Regions from separate parts of the Homo sapiens genome. Here region 1 is linked to region 2. The links are contacts of gene promoters, found by promoter capture Hi-C in human tissues and cell types (Jung and others, 2019). All regions are on one chromosome and are shown on one strand. The core of a region is centred on a gene start or on the middle of the fragment in contact, and the rest is flanking DNA. Distances in the headings are between cores, read along the strand shown.

What was found. Contacts are between HindIII fragments. The study calls those that stand out against the background at their distance.
Region 1: a fragment that was not itself captured here is called in contact with the fragment with the promoter of C5orf34 in region 2 in 1 of the 25 tissues and cell types used here (H1 embryonic stem cells).

Annotation. Positions count from the first base shown.
Region 1 is chr5:43,142,854-43,145,553 of GRCh38, forward strand. The region is part of intron 4 of ZNF131 (zinc finger protein 131); the gene reads left to right. Among named protein-coding and RNA genes, the nearest start is that of ZNF131, 23 kb to the left of the region's middle. The HindIII fragment of the contact is 3,467 bases long and covers 1-2,700 here.
Region 2 is chr5:43,513,798-43,516,497 of GRCh38, forward strand. It overlaps C5orf34 (chromosome 5 open reading frame 34), which reads right to left and starts at 1,351. Exons shown (of 13, transcript NM_198566.4): 1 at 1,009-1,351. LOC124900190 (a long non-coding RNA gene) reads left to right here. Exons shown (of 3, transcript XR_007058764.1): 2 at 396-2,700. RefSeq lists an enhancer at 959-1,118. The HindIII fragment of the contact is 12,650 bases long and covers 1-2,700 here.

The DNA of each region.
Region 1 (2,700 bases), core at 120-2,619, 370 kb before region 2:
GCTAATTTTTGTATTTCTTTGTAGAGACAGGATTTCACCATGTTGCCCAGGCTACTAGTCTCGAACTCCTGGGCTCAAGAGACGTGGCCACCTCAGCCTCTCAAAGTGCCGGGATTGCAGGCATAAGCCACCATACTTGGCCAGACATGGTTTCTTTTTTTAATCTTTCAAGCTTTTTTTTTTTTTTTTGAAGACAGAGTCTCACTGTTACCAGGATGGAGTGCAGTGGCGTGATCTCGGCTCACTGCAACCTCTGCTTCCCGGGTTCAAGCGATTCCTTTGCCTCAATCTCCCGAGTAGCTGGGACTACAGGCACACGCCACCACGCCCAGCTAATTTTTGTATTTTTAGTAGAGATGGGGTTTTCACCATGTTGGCCAGGATGGTCTCATCTCTTTACCTTGTGATCTGCCCGCCTCTGCCTCCCAAAGTGCTGGGATTACAAGCACGAGTCACTGCGCCCGGCCTCAAGCTTTTATTTAAGTGCAGTGATCCAGGATGGATTTTAGATCTTGTTGAAAGCAGCCACATCCATGGACTGCACATAGTCCTCAAAAGCAGTGATCTGCTTCTCCACTGTTGCAAGTTTATCATCTTCAACTACACGCTGTATTTGAAGTTTCTTAATTTCCTATCCCACTGGAACTAGTTTAGATGAGCCAGACATCGTTTCTTATTGTTGTTACTGGTTTAGTGACTTTCCTGGACTTCTGTAATCCCTTTCCTGTAATTCTGTACAGTCTACATTTTGTGTGTATGGCCACTGAAGTCTGCATAGGTAGTTTACTGAACAAACTGATCATTGGACAGAAATTTTCTTAAAAGTCTTAAACCAGTAAGTCTCCACATTTTTGTTGGGGAGCTCTTTATAGGGTACACCATCAGTGTCCCATCAAGCAGTTTACAACTGCTTTAGCCTTTACTTCCTGTGTTAACAGAACCTCAAGGTCAGATAGAGATGAGAGTTGCTAAGGTCTTTCCTGGACATGTATACAGCTCTGTGCATGTGTATGGCCCTCTAGGTTCTCTGGAATATTGTCAGAGCTTTTTTTTTTTTTTTTTTTTTTTTTTTTTTTTTTTTTTCCTTGAGACGGAGTCTCGCTCTGTCCCCAAGACTGGAATGCAGTGGTGCGATCTTGGCTCACTGCAAGCTCCACCTCCCAGGTTCACGCTATTCTCCTGCCTCAGCCTCCCGAGTAGCTGGGACTACAGGCACTCGCCACCACGCCCAGCTAATATTTTGTATTTTTAGTAGGGACGAGATTTCACTGTGTTAGCCAGGATGGTCTCGATCTCCTGACCTCGTGATCCACTTGTCTCGGCCTCCCAAAGTGCTGGGATTACAGGCGTGAGCCACGGCGCCTGGCCTTTTTTTCTTTCTTTCTTTTTTTTTTTTTTTTTTTTTTTTTTTTTTGGAGACAGAGCTTTGTGTTGGCACGATCCTGGCTCACCGCAACCTCCGCCTGCCAGGTTCAAGTGATTCTCCTGCCTCAGCCTCCTGAGTAGCTGGGATTATAGGCGCTCACCACCACGCCCAACTAATTTTTTTTACTTTTGGTAGAGTCGGAGTTTCACCATGTTGGCCAAGCTGGTCTTGAACTCCTGACCTCAGGTGATCCACCTGCCTTGACCTCCCAAAGTACTGGGATGACAGGCATGAGCCATCACGTCCAGTCTGTCAGAGCTTTTTAAAGCCCCCTATGAACATCTCATTCTCCAGTTTTTCCTTTCAGTTTTTGTTCAGCTTCTTGATAGCCCAAACTTGTAATGCCACCACAGTAGTTGCAATGATAAACAGTTGCCATTGATTGTTTTTTGACAAATGTCTTGTGTTTAAGGCTATTTGAAAAGTGAGCTGTGGGTCAGATCAAATCTCCAAATATTTTATCCTGTCTTAGATTTATGTTTTAAGGAAGTGGTACACGTAAAGCTCTTAAAACAATATCTGCCACATAATAACATGATTATGCATATGTTCTTTTCATTTCTTGGAATGCCATCTGTCTGCTTGTTCATGGCAAAATTTTACTCATCTTTCTGGTCTCAGGTGAGAGCCAACAACCTGTTCTCTGAAGCTTTTCCTTACTGAGCCAAGCAGATTGACTTAGGCACTTCTATTATTCTGTATTTTTATGTTTTACATTTTCCATTACAACAATAATCATATTAGTGTTCCCACATTTTTCTAATAGTCTCCAACCTCTCTGAGGCAGGGATTATGTGTTTTTTTCATCTTCAGGAGGCATTTGTGGATGGGTTTGAAAAACTACCTCGAAATTATGCCTCTGAGACTCAGTTGCCAGGTTTATGTCCATTCCGTCATAAGCCTCTAAAATCTCTTTCCTTGCTGTTCAGTTGTGAATACAGGCTGGCTTATCCCACTCTGCAAAACAAAAGCCTGGTAGGAGCACTTTTTCTTGTTCTTTAATTACTCCTGTTTGGGATAGGGATCTGAGTTCAGAGGTCATACCTATAGTTAAGACAAGCATAAGAAAACTGGCTAAGAAGTAGTTTACGGCCTGGGTGCAGTGGCTTATGCTTGTAATTCCAGCACTTTGGGAGGCCAAGCCAGGTGGATCACTTGAGGTCAGGAGTTTGAGACCAGCCTGGCCAAAATGGTGAAACATCGTCTTTACTAAAAATACAAAAAATTAGCCGGACATGGTGGCACGCCCCTGTAATCCCAGTTTTCACAAGGCT
Region 2 (2,700 bases), core at 101-2,600:
GTTAAAGTTACTCCCAAACATCTCCCAATCATTTGTCATCCCTCTTCAAGTTTTTTCTTCATAGAATCTATCATCAAAATTGATTATTTACTTGCTTTTTATTTTCTCCCACTAGGATATAAAGTCAACCGAAGCAGGGGCCTTATCTGTCTTATATGTAACAGTATCTCTGGCATCTAAAACAGTATTAGGCAAATAGTAAATGGCACAATAAATATTTGAATGATGAAAAATAAGTAAACTGCTCCTCTTGAATTTGCAATTTGAATTAATGGTGTCTCATTGTTAGCAGCCAATATTCTAAAACTTGACTTTCCACTCCATGCCCCTGTAACAAGTCCTGTTGATTTTCTGTCTTTGGAACCTGACTCTCTCTACCTCTTTCTCTTTTTCAGGCCATAGACTCTCCAACTCCTGCAACTGTCTGGAATTTCTTCTCTCTCCAATCCATCTCTAGTATTGATGACATAGGTAACTTTCCACAAGTCACACCATACCAAGTGCTTTACATCACCTGTTTACGTACTTATCAAATGGCAATATAGATTACAGATATATATATAAACACACACGTATATATCGGGTATGTCTACTTGGTATTTTAGGGGAAAAAACGGGTGCTGATACATAGATGGAAGACATTTTCTGATTCCAATTTGGGAAAAATAGTCTATCTTTGGTCAGGTCTTTTTTTTAATAGCTTTACTGAGGCGGTTTTCTAATTTTAAATAATCAAGCATACACAACAAACAGTGTAATGACTAAGGTTCTTGGCATACCATAGGAAACCATAACCCGGCTCCAACCCACACTGCCATTCTCATCTCTACAGTCTCATTCCCGCTTGCGTTCTCATCACCCAGCACATTACGTCAGGGTATGTTTAACACTCAAAAATCCACAAGTCTGTTCTTGACATGAATGAGAATCTCATTTCTTTCAAAATGCTATAGTCTCTAGTTACAGAAGGAGCCTGATCAAAACAACCACCAAAAGTCTTCCACTCACAGCAGTTCGGAGCCGAAAAGTTGCGGAAATGAGGCCCAGCAACGGTCCCTGGCTTTGATTTGCCAAAATGCTCTGGAAGCCGCAGCGTCGGCGCCTGCCCACCACTGCTTCTTCAGGGGTTTCTTCAGTTTGACAAATTACCAGCGAGTGATATTTCTTGGTGAAAGAAAAAAATCACAACCCTAGAGGAATAAGGTGGCAGGGAGAGTGTTTTGGCCAAGATGCCCGCCACGAAACAGGAAAGCGGAGACAGCGCCAACTGTAACCACTAAGAGAAAGCGCAAACCGCACAAGACCAGTTCAAAACCAGCGCCCTCAGGGAGCCGCTTCAGAGCTCCGCAACAGGGAAGACAGGAAGTCCCGCCCCTCCACAACAGGAAGGGCCGGAAGTCCCGCCCCTCCACTCCGGAGGCTGCCCTCGCTGCGTTCCCTACGAAGGGCGGAGCAGGAATTGGTGTAGGAAGGGGACGGGTGTTTCCTTGTTCGGAATGGGGTTGGCTCCTCTTTGATTTTTTACTTCTGGTGACCCACGCAAAAGCAGTCCCGACCTGGTTGTATTAATAATAAAGGCTGTAAGGATCAGCCTTTTGAACGGTCCAGCCGAGAACTAACCACAGAGCGCGTTTTAGTGGAGTGGTACTTATTTTTAAATAAGGTAAAAAACGATTATACTTCAGTAAAGCTGTTTAGAAAAAAAAAAACTTGGCCAAAGATGGAGAACTCTTCCTAATTTGGTATCAGAAAATAGGTCGTCTATGTATCTGCACCTTTTTTCCTTATAAAGTGGCAAATAAATGTGTCTGCTATATTTATTGCCACTAAACAAGTGTTTATGGAACACTCACTGTGTGTTTAGGCATAGTGGGGATAAAGCAGGGAAGGTGGCCCAGTTCTTTGCGGGTGAGGATCAGAGCTAGAGATTAACTGGAAAGAAAGAATAAACAATCATTTATTACAGTTGTGAGTGTTTCTAAGATAAAATACAGAGGTTTGTGAGAGCATAGAGAGGCATACCTTGTTTTATTGTGCATTTTATTGTGCTTTGCAGATACTGAGTTTACTACAAATGGAAGGTTTGAGGCAACCTTGATGGAGCAAGTGTATGGGTGCCATGTTTTTCCAACATCATGTGCTCACTTTGTGTCTCTGACATATTTTGGTAATTCCCACAATATTTCAAACTTTTTCATTATTTTTGTATCTGTTAGAGTGATCTGTGTGATCACTGATCTTTGATGTCACTACTGTAATTGTTTTGGGGGACCACAGATCATGCTCATACATTATAAAATGGCGAACTGAATCTGTTACAGGTAGTTAGGCATGAGCAAGGCAGGAGAGGGCTCTCCCCTGCCACCCACCCACTAGAAATGTTGGGTGATGGTTCAGCAATTATCACATGGCCTCTCTAAAAATGAAAATTTGGCAGCGCCAGGGAAAGGCCATTTCCTGATGGCCCACACCTGTTAACATCAAAATGTTAATTGAATGCAGGCCCCAGAGAGAAGCAACTTCCTGGGCATGCCGGTTAAGAGACAAAAGTGATGAAGTATGATTTTTCTGATACACTCCACCGGAAAAAGGAAGAAAGCCTCAGATGGGCATGTGTATAAATCCATAAAATCACTGTGTGTGCTCACTTCCCAAGGGTAAAGAGGGCTCTGAGCATGCAGGGAGCCCATCCTAAGATCA